3 separate regions of the Homo sapiens genome follow, and all the other regions are linked to region 1. The links are contacts of gene promoters, found by promoter capture Hi-C in blood cells and fetal thymus (Javierre and others, 2016). All regions are on one chromosome and are shown on one strand. The core of a region is centred on a gene start or on the middle of the fragment in contact, and the rest is flanking DNA. Distances in the headings are between cores, read along the strand shown. Region 1 holds the start of FRMD3 (FERM domain containing 3). Region 2 has its middle 17 kb from the start of FRMD3-AS1. Region 3 has its middle 35 kb from the start of FRMD3-AS1.

Region 1 (3,502 bases), core at 807-3,306:
TTCTGTTTCTTACAGTCCCACATTGGGTTATCTTTATTCTGTCTTTTTCACTACTGTCCTTGTTGGTCTTATTTTGCTTCCTTGGAATTTGGGGTAACAATTTTTGGGTATTGATATGACTCTTTTGGAGCCTAACGGTCACTATAATAGGATGGACAAGTGTGTGTGTGGTCTTAAAAGAAAAGCATGGACTGTTTGGCTGGTGACTTTTCTTTGATCTCTGGGCTGTCTGCTCTTTTGGCTAGCAGAGATGATCCAGTTTTCAACTTGGGGCAGGTCCCATCCCTGCCACCTCATATGTGCATATGGGGATTTACAGATTACAGCTGTAAGATGTCCTCCACTGACCCGGTGTCATACCAGCTTCCCAGCCACCTGTGGGATGAACAGGTGTTCTCTCCTTTGAAATGAGAAAAGAAATGGAGAGACTTTTCAAAGATCCCCAGGATTAGCCAGTAGCTGGGCCAAGAATGAAATCCACATCTTCCCATACCCTCAATACTGACCTCTCCATCAGGATCTGCCCTAACATTTGAAGGGCCCAGCTCAAGAGCCTACATGAATGCCCCATACTATCATCTAAATATTCATAAGCAATAGTCAGCTATTGAGTGCTACATAAAACATTCTCTATCCTCCTATCTTGACAAATTGTTGCAATTTGGAATTTCCAGGAGCAGATACTGAGACTGAGTTTGTCCTGTGTGGTATTTATTAGTGATCAACAGGGAGAGGAGGCAGGAGCAGGCAGAGAGAGAAGTCCAAATGCAATGCGGACTCCCCCAAACCTTAGCCAACCCCACTAGGTGTCCTAGAGAATATATGGCCCACCAGACTGTCCAGGGCAGGTAAAATTTGTGTGCCACTCTTCCTCGACCCCCAGGACAGGGCATATCTTTGGATGAGGGGACTCTATGCAGGCACAAACCTTGAAAAAGCTGACAGCTGGTCAACACCTCCTCTTCTAACAAATGTTCCTTCCTAATGACCTGTTCTGCTCCGGCAAGAGCAACAGGGTGAGAGGACTTCCATCTCTCCCAGCTCCTGGACATTCTAGTGCTCACATTCAAGCTCCATACCCCTGACTCAACAGCTGCTCCTGGCCACTCTCGGGCCTACGGTACCTGACACAGTGGCTCTAGCCACCTTGGGGACAACAGAGAGGCAGGATACCTCCTACCTTCAACACCCTGGAGGCGCGTGGGGAATTCCAGAGTCCTCAATACCCAGAGATTGGACTAAAACGGGATGGGGCACATCCGCTTTGCCATTAGACCTCTTAATTCCTGAGCAACCGGGAACTGGAGGAGGTCTGTAAAGCAGGGGAGTAGGATAGGAACCTATCCCTCTTGCTCGGGTCAAAGGTATGCTATCAAAGATCACACTAAGATGTTGGGAGATTTAAAGGAGGATTTGCACATGGAAGGCTCTTTTTTGGAGAAAGAGACTGAGTCCTAGCTAGCATTAAATAAAACAATGGCTTAAACAATCTCCATGAGTACCAGAGATTTTTACTATTAGCGATATTCCTGGTGTAGCCGTGTCAGGGCTGTCACTCTCTCTGTCACTCGCCCTGGGCCCAGCAATCCTTTCCCGAGGCGGAATCCCCCTGGCGGTGTGGGTCAGGATCGCTCTCCGTCCCCTACCCGCGCCAGGTCCCTGGAGCTGAGCAGAGCAGGGCGCTGTCGAGCGCGTTGGGGAGCCGGGGCCGGGACGAGCACAACCGGGAGCCCGAGCGACAGCGGCCAGGGGAGGGAGGAGGCGGTGAGGCTGAGGAAGGCAGTCGGGCCCAGCTTGACGCAGCGGCGGCTGCGACTGAGCAGGCCACCACCAGGGCACCCGGGCCAGCCGCGCCAGCCATCCCTCCGCCTCCTCCTTCAGCTGCTCGGCGCGCGTGGGAGTGAGTGCGTCGCGAGCCCGCCGGGGGTCTCAGGCTCTGGGCGTCCTCGGCGAGCGAGCCCGGGCAGAGGGAGGCGCACGAGCGCGCGCGACAGAAGGAGGCGGGGAAAGGAGGGGGCGAGGCGGAGGCGAGCGAACAGAGGGAGGGACCCGCCCGCCGCGCCCCGGCCGCTGGGCATGTGTGTCCGCAGGCGCCCGACGCTGCCGATGTCCCGGGGCTGAGCCGCGCCCAGGTGTCCCGGACAGTGCGTGCGAGCGTGTGTGTCCGCGCAGGCGAGCACCGCGCCGGCCCTGAGCCTCCCGCTCGCTCCCCACGGCCGCGGTGCATGTTCGCCTCCTGCCACTGTGTGCCGAGAGGCAGGAGGACCATGAAAATGATCCACTTTCGGAGCTCCAGCGTCAAATCGCTCAGCCAGGAGATGAGATGCACCATCCGGCTGCTGGACGACTCGGAGATCTCCTGCCACATCCAGGTGCGCGTGGAACCGGGCGAGGGCGCGGGGCACACGCCGGGAGCAGGGCGGGGGGCCTTTGCGGTGGGCATGCGAGAACAAGGAACCCACTCCCGGAGGGGATTGGGGGACTGCTAGAAAGCCAGATTTCGATTCCTCAGGCCTCTGAGGGTGGGGGGCCTTATCCTGGCATGGAGGGGCATGGTGCCCTGCAAGCGCCAGGCACGCGTTATCCGCGCCCAGTCTCCTTCCCCTCGCGTGCACCCTGCGCGCGCGTCTCACTGCGCCCGGGCTAGGGGCGCGGGGCAGCTGCCTCCGGAGGGACTCTGGCCCCTCTGGGCCCTACTCCGCCAGGAGATGGGAGCTCCGAGGGCTGAGAGGGGCACCTGCATGTCGCCCACTGGTATTTCCTCCCTTCTTCCACGTGGAGAAGGCATGCATCAGCTGGGTTCACTCATTTCTGTCTCCCGCGCCCAGGCTCCGGAGACGCCCTCAGTCCCGGAACCTGCTTTCCGCTCCGTGTCGGTCCCCCTCACCCTCCGCCGGTGGTCTTTAGTTCTCCGCGTGGGGCGGTGGCGAAGTTTCCCCAGAGTGAGAGAGGCCGGGCTGCCCTGGGCGCCAGCCTTGAGGGATGGAGCGCGCGCTGCGCCGGACTGGAGCTACCTCGAAAGGAATGTGTGAAGTCTGAGTGTTTCGGAGAAAGGAAAAGGGATTGTGAGGCCAGCAAGTGGGGAGCCCTGCAGGAACCTGGGTCCTGGGTAAAAGAGCCCCGTGGAATCTTGGTGGACATTCACTGTCGCCCAAGTTGGAGGAGAAGGCGAGTTGTTTGGGAGAAGGCAGCTTTGCTGGCAGCCCTGTCCTCGGGTAGTAAGTGCCTCTGGGCTGTCAGGAGAGCTAGTGTGAGGTGCAAAGGTGTGTGTGTGCATGTGGTTGCGCGTGCGTGTGCATATTTGCTGTGGGTGAATATGTAGGCAGGTGGGAGCCCCTCTTCCAGGACCCCAAAGATGCCCCACTCGGTGCGCACACAATCAGGAAAGGTTGTGTCAGGGCTCAGCACAATTAACTTCTGACTTCTAAATCTATTTAACTGTTTATCTCTGGGATTTCCTTTCTCACCTACCCTAGTCGAGTCTTGAGGCTCTGGGACTGAG
Region 2 (3,503 bases), core at 871-3,370, 340 kb after region 1:
TGTAAGTGAAGGGCTTGAACCTTATATCTTGAACCCAGATGTGGCCTGTGAACTTCAGATACATACATACACCTTTATTGACATACCCATTTGAATGTTTCACAGGACTCCAAACTTTGCAAATTGAAACAACATTGATCAGTCCCTGCCTCACCCCACATGGTATCCCTGTGCCTGTGTCGTGTCCTCCATCTAGTGGCCAACCCTGTGGTGCTCCCAACTGCCCAGGCCAGAACACCAAGGCCTCTTACTCCTTCCTCTTCCTCACCATCCATACTTGGTCCATCTCTAAATCCTGTCCACTGTTACCTCCTAAATGTTTTTGAATACAGCTATTCATCTTCATCCTCACCTTCTTACCATCTGCTCTCCCTGGAGGACTGTGACACTGCCTTGTCCCCCTTAAGCAATCAGATGCTCACTCAGGCTCTCACTTTGATCTGTTCTCCACACTGCCATCAAAATGAGTTTTTCAAACATCTTTGAATGGCACTCTGCAGTGAATTGCCACTGCCCATAGAATAAAGGTTATCTACATCAGCATGTGTTTTGCGTTCTGAGTGTTTCCACCCCTGCCTCTCATCCTCTTGCTCCAGCCATAGGACCTCCCTTAGTTCTGCTGGCACCATGCACTTCCTCTCACCCCAGGGCCTTTGCATTTGCTGTTCCTCCTGACTGGAGTGCCCACCCATAGCCAGCTCCTCACTTACTTAAGTGATACTCACTCTTCAGATCTGAAATTTAGGACCCCAAGAGAGACCCCCACCGTACCACCTTCAGAACAGACCTGGTCTACTTACCTATTTTCTCTCAAGGCATCCTATTTTCACTTTCAACGAACTTACCTAAAATGTAATGGAATAGGCCAGGTGTGGTGGCTCATGCCTGTAATCCCAGCACTTTGGGTGGCTGAAATTGATGAATCACTTGAGATCAAGAGTTTGAGACCAGCCTGGCCAACATGATGAAACCCCGTCTCTACTAAAAATACAAAAATTAGCCAGGTATTGTGGTGAGTGCCTGTAATCCCAGCTGTTTGGGAGGCTGAGGCAGGAGAATTGCTTGAACCTGGGAGGCGTAGGTAGCAGTGAGCCAAGATGGCGCCACTGCACTGCAGCCCGGGTGACAGAATGAGAGTCCATCTCAAAAAAAGAAAAAAAAAAAGGACTGAAATAGAACATAAGGAGGGTCTACAAGGGCAAGACCAAGTCTGTCTAACTCACTAAGAGCTAGAAGTACTCAATATTTATTTAATAAATAAATGTAAAAATAAATGTAAATTTTGTAGGAACCCACACTAATTTTTAATGGATTGCTGTCGATCGTCTATTGATTATATATATGGGGCATATAATATCTATATATATAGATTCCATATATACAATAACTTCCATTTTGCTAGCTTTAACAATTAACAGTTGGGTCCATATAAGAGAATAATCTAAATATGTACATCTTTTTCTTTTAAGTACTGCTGTCCATTTACTTATTGTTAATTGACAAGTAAAAATTATATATATTATGGTGTACAACATGACGTTTTGATGTATGTATACCAGTAGAATGGCCAAATCAAGCTATTTAACATATGTAGTGCCTCACATACTTATCTTTTCTGTGGTGAGAACACTTAAAATCTAATTTCTTGGCTGGGTGTGGTGGCTCAAGCCTGTAATCCCAGCACTTTGCGAGGTGGGAGGATCACCTGAGGTGAGGAGTTTGAGACCAGCCTGGCCAACATGGCAAGACCCCATCTCTACTAAAAATTAAAACAAACAAACAAACAAACAAAAAAACAAGCCAAGCATAGTGGCGGGCACCTGTAATCCTAGCTACTGGGAAGGCTGAGGCAGGAGAATTGCTTGAATCTGAGAGGCTGAATCTGCAGTGAGCTGAGATCAAGCCATTGCACTCCAGCCTGGGCAACGGAGTGAGACTCCACCTCAAAAAAAAAATACTGCTTTCTTTTAATGCCATTTCTTGTTAAATTCATTTTAAAGTGCATTGGAAAGCTTTCTATCATTACAATGTGTGTTAGTTGTAGTTAAATATTAGCTTGACAATTGTTTTTCATTATGAATATTCATTATTTATAGTTCTGTTTTCTCTTTTGTTATCATTGTCTATTACATCTCTGAGTCATTGCAGCTGCTTGACTCATGTCTTTTAGCCAATTTTCCTTTTAAGCTGCATAGATATAGAAATTAATTAAACATACTTAAGCTTATGTGTTAAATAATAGTTAATAAGGCTTTGAATGAGAACTTAAGGAGCAAAGTGCATGTTGCTATGATGGGTGGTTTTTCTTTTTTTTTTGGACAGGAAGTAGGATTTATTGGTGGGCATTAGGAGGGAGCAGCACATGGGGAGCCCTCATGAGTGCAGGGCCTGCCACTTGTCCAGAGGGCCATAACTGGAGATGTATTTGACCCCATAGCCATCTGGGATGAGCCACTTCTCAGTCACCATGTTTTCAAATCATCTGCATGATGCAGTGTTATGTTAGCATTTTCATCTGTGTCCTGATCTGGCTTCTCGGTGCTTGAAGGAGTCAGACTTAGGAGTCTGATAATCTGGGAAGGGAGATATTATTGTATATATTCATGCCCTTAGGAGCTAAAACATTTAAAACAAAATGCTAAACTACTTGAGAATAGAACTGAAGAGACAACAAACCAAGCATGAAATCCTGCTGAGCATTTTTCCTTACTTACATATTCCAAGCATGAAATCATGCCAAGCACTATTCCTTACCTACATATTAAGTAAAATTAGATCCCAGGCAAGTAACTAATTTGTAGTGAGGAGTAGAGAAATAGAAAAAAGTCCCATTAATATTTACATTGAGTCCAACTGCTATATTGGTCCACGTGATAATACATGTTTCACTCCAAAAACATTTCTTACAATTATATTTTTTAAAAATTCTGAAATAGCACTAGATTGGTTAAGTAGTTGCCTCCAGAATCCACTTACTATTTGGGAGTGTCTCCTCCATTACCAAGGCCTCTTCCAAGAGAATATCCGAACTCTGGCATCCTCTACGTCCAAGGCATAATTCAAAATTATTTCAGCAAAACATGATGATAGGAATATGCTTTCCCCACTGCTAAGAACCCTGGATGGGCTTTTGCTTGTCATTCTCCAGCACCTTTTTGGTTGAAGGCCGAATGCAGTGGGCTGTGTGGAGGAGAACTGTGTTCCAGACAGGGACACATGGACAGTCTGGCTGTGACTTCTGTTCTGCCATCAACAGCCAGGGTACAGCAGCCTGGTCTGACTTGCTAGGCAGGTGTCCTTCTTCCACAGCTTCTCCAGGATTCTCCCAAACCTATATCATTGGGTGGGGTGGATGGCCTTTCTAGGAAGAGGAAAGCCCTCTTGCCTTCACAAGTCTACATTAGCTGCATTTCTCTGTTAGATCCTTTGATCAAACTCACTCCAGATATTGAAAGTCTTTATGTACAAAATCCTGGTCTATGGGTCTATGACCCTTTAAGAGA
Region 3 (3,256 bases), core at 388-2,887, 350 kb after region 1:
GCAGCAGGAAAATTACAGGACTCCTCAAACCAGGGGTTCTTAAACTTAGATCATGAGCCAAATTTAGAAGCTACTTGTTTTTGTAAATAAAATTTTACAGAAACACAGCCACTCCCGTTAGTTTCAGCAGATCTTTCTTATGCAAATGGTTGCTCAGGCAGCCCCTATACTTATCACTGTAGCTTCACACTCAACTCAGTTGAAAGGGAAAACGACGCAGGGATAAATCAGGAATTAACACCCCCCTTGCCCCCCCCGCCACCCATTCCTCAATGCATGTGGCTACGTGACTGTGCTGGGCAATCTCCCGTGGTGGCTGCACCCCAGCATTTAACTGGGTGGAATCTCGGGGTTGCTGCAGTTTTGTGTCAGAAGTTCAGCTGAGAGAAAGTGTGCTTATGGAGGAGTGGTTGAGGCTTTGCAGTTCATCTGTTCCTCTGGGCACCTGAGATTATGTCCCTGGATTGAGTTCAGATCTTCAGGAGCTGCTTATCTCCCTGCCTTAGAGAGTCCCCTCAGAGGCATTGCATCTGGCCTGCATCAATCATCAGCTTATATTGAGAAACAGCCTTGGGAGACTCATTGTGTTTTGGGGAACATTCATGTGTGTTTTGTTGTTGGGAACATCAGACTGCAGGTTACACAGCCATCTCTCTATGAGGTTGCTCCAGGAAGTCTCACTACCAGAAATCGTGCTTCAAAGTGACTTTTCTTCTGAAGGCACAGAATTGATAATTGACTGTGCTTCTTTAGAGAGCACAGAGTCCAATCCCAGGACTTTGGAAGGCTAAGGCAGGAGGATCACTTGAGCCCAGGAGTTTGAGACCAGCCTGAGCACCGTAGGGTCTCCACAAAAAAATTAAAAAAAAAAAAAGAAAGAAAGAAAGAAAGAAAAAGAAAGCACAGGGGCCCTTTAATGGTCCACCTCTGACATGTATAAAGGATTTTGGAGGTATTTATTTTGCACTAGGCACAGTGTTGGCTCTATTAAGTTTTCCTATTCTTGCTTTGTCTTCGAAGCATTTTTTATTCCTATTTAAATTATTTTTATCATTAAAAATAATGATAAAAATGATCACTGTGCTATCTACAGACCCTTATAAGCTGTGTGAACTTGTTTTGGGATTCAGGCTTTGTAGAAAGCAGTGGTTTGTAAGCTTGACCACGTACCAGAATCACCTGAGAGGCTTGTTTTAAAACAGATTTCTGGCCCCACCCCACAGTTTGGGATTCCCTGGGTCTGGGGCAGAGCCTGGGTCTGGGCCTTTCTAACACATTCCCAGGGGATGCTGATGCTGCACGTTCCGGAACTGCCTGTGTGCCACTCTAATAAATAAAACCTCAACAACAGTTGCTGATTATATATTAGTAACCTGCCAATCAACCAGTGAAGAATTTTTTTTTTCAATTCTTATTATGCAGCTGGCACCAAACTGGACATTACAGGGTGACATGGTCCTTATCCTAAGATAATTTTCTGATAGGTTGCAGAGATGTCAAATACATGTAACTTAGAGAAAAGGGCAATGCCTAGCAAGGTGTAGATCGGGGTGGGACAGTTCAAAGTGAATTTGGTCTTTAGAGAGAAACACAGGATGAAATAGGGCTTGAACTTGTCTTTGAAGTGAAGATTGAGTTTGAGTGACAGAGTGAAGGATGGTGAGAAGGTCCTTTTCATTAGAGGACTAGCATGGGCAATGGTCCAGCAATGGAAAGAAAAAGCCCCCATAAAACCACGTAGGGGTGTGTGATGCAGAAGATGGAACTTCTCACTCCACAGAGCAGCACGCCCTCCACAGCCGTGGAGAGGGGCATTCCCCACAAGCTAACACCGCCCTCCCATCTCATTTACCCCTGCTTTCCCTTTGATCAGATCCTCCGTTATTCCCTGACAACATTCTATACTTCCCAAGGCTGTTCCTTTGCCCCCGGTGTCTCCTTCACCAATGTACACGTTTCCCCTATCTTTACCAGTCTCATAAGGTACAGCTCAAATGCTACCCACCACTTAGTAAAAATGCTTCCTTGTCCCTCCCAAGCCCTACCTTAGTGATTGGCCAATAGCTTGCATTGACAAGAACGTCATTCCTTCCCCCATTGACTTGTGGCCAAGCTTTACTCATCCTCTGTCAATTCTAGTTTCTTCTTTGCTCTTCCTCTGTGGCAACTCCTGTTCTCCAAGTGTGGTCCGTAGACCAGCAGTATTGGCTTTCCTGGGAACTTGTTGAAGTGCAAATACACCCCACCCCAGACCTGAATGGAAAACTCTGGGCATGGGGCCTGGCCATCTGAGTTTTAACAAACCCTCCAGGTGATTCTAATACATGCTGCTATATGAGGAAAGCTAATTATTGGCAAATGGCCACCAAAGCCCTCCCAGAGGGACTGCTTTCTGTTCTCTAATTGCTAACAGTCCATTTTAAGAGCTGAGATTTTGCATTTCTTACGAGACGAACAGTTTTAATTTCCTCAGCAGTTTGCTTTAAAAATAAAATGAGAATGTTTTCTCCATAAGTTTAACATTTCACTGACTTTCTTAGTAGTACAAATGCCCTGACCGCTTTTTAAAATGATTATAATTCAAACATAGATAATGAATGCTTTGGACTACTGTAACAAATTGGATAATAATAATGATTTAATGGAAGTCAAGCTATCTAACAGTGGGAAGAAAAACCCTGCTGATTAATTTCGTTTTTCTAAAACTCATGTTCATTTATAGTATATTCATACCAAAAGTATTCCAGTGCCTTGCTTACTCCATGTCTAGTTCATATACTTTCTTATAGGAAGAATTGGAAAAATTACAAGGAACTCTTATCTAAAAATACTACATTGTTCAAAGATGTGAAATATATTGCTTATTTTCTAGTAAAATTGTAACTGCTTGGCCATATACAGAGTATGTAGGAATTTTGTTTTCCACAAAAACACAAATTTGTATATATATATATATATATATATACACACACACAAATCTGTGTATCTGTGAGATCCAGTTTATATTCCTTTTATGTTTTTTTCTTTTTAAACTTTATTGAAGTACAATTAACAAAAGAAAAATGCATCTGTTTAAAGGATCCATTGGATATAGAATATAATTTGATTAGCTTTGATAGCTACACTCATGGAACTGCCGTCACAATTAAAATATAGAACATTTCTGTTACTGTCCCAAGTTTCCTTGTTTACCTTTGCAGTCTATCCCACCCTTCACCCCGGTCTTAGGCAATAAAAATGGAGTAACAGCTATGTG

What was found. The method cuts DNA at HindIII sites, captures the fragments that hold promoters and counts their contacts. A CHiCAGO score of 5 or more calls a contact.
Region 2: a contact is called between a fragment that was not itself captured here and the fragment with the promoter of FRMD3 in region 1, in 3 of 17 cell types (endothelial precursors, M1 macrophages and M2 macrophages). The highest score is 9.7, in endothelial precursors.
Region 3: a contact is called between a fragment that was not itself captured here and the fragment with the promoter of FRMD3 in region 1, in 1 of 17 cell types (endothelial precursors). The highest score is 5.4, in endothelial precursors.

Annotation. Positions count from the first base shown.
Region 1 is chr9:83,536,955-83,540,456 of GRCh38, reverse strand. FRMD3 (FERM domain containing 3) reads left to right here and starts at 2,056. Exons shown (of 14, transcript NM_174938.6): 1 at 2,056-2,372. The coding sequence starts at 2,226. The HindIII fragment of the contact is 8,384 bases long and covers 1-3,502 here.
Region 2 is chr9:83,200,936-83,204,438 of GRCh38, reverse strand. It overlaps a transcript of RASEF not described here and the pseudogene RN7SKP242. Among named protein-coding and RNA genes, the nearest start is that of FRMD3-AS1, 17 kb to the left of the region's middle. The HindIII fragment of the contact is 211 bases long and covers 2,015-2,225 here.
Region 3 is chr9:83,182,972-83,186,227 of GRCh38, reverse strand. It overlaps a transcript of RASEF not described here. Among named protein-coding and RNA genes, the nearest start is that of FRMD3-AS1, 35 kb to the left of the region's middle. The HindIII fragment of the contact is 956 bases long and covers 1,160-2,115 here.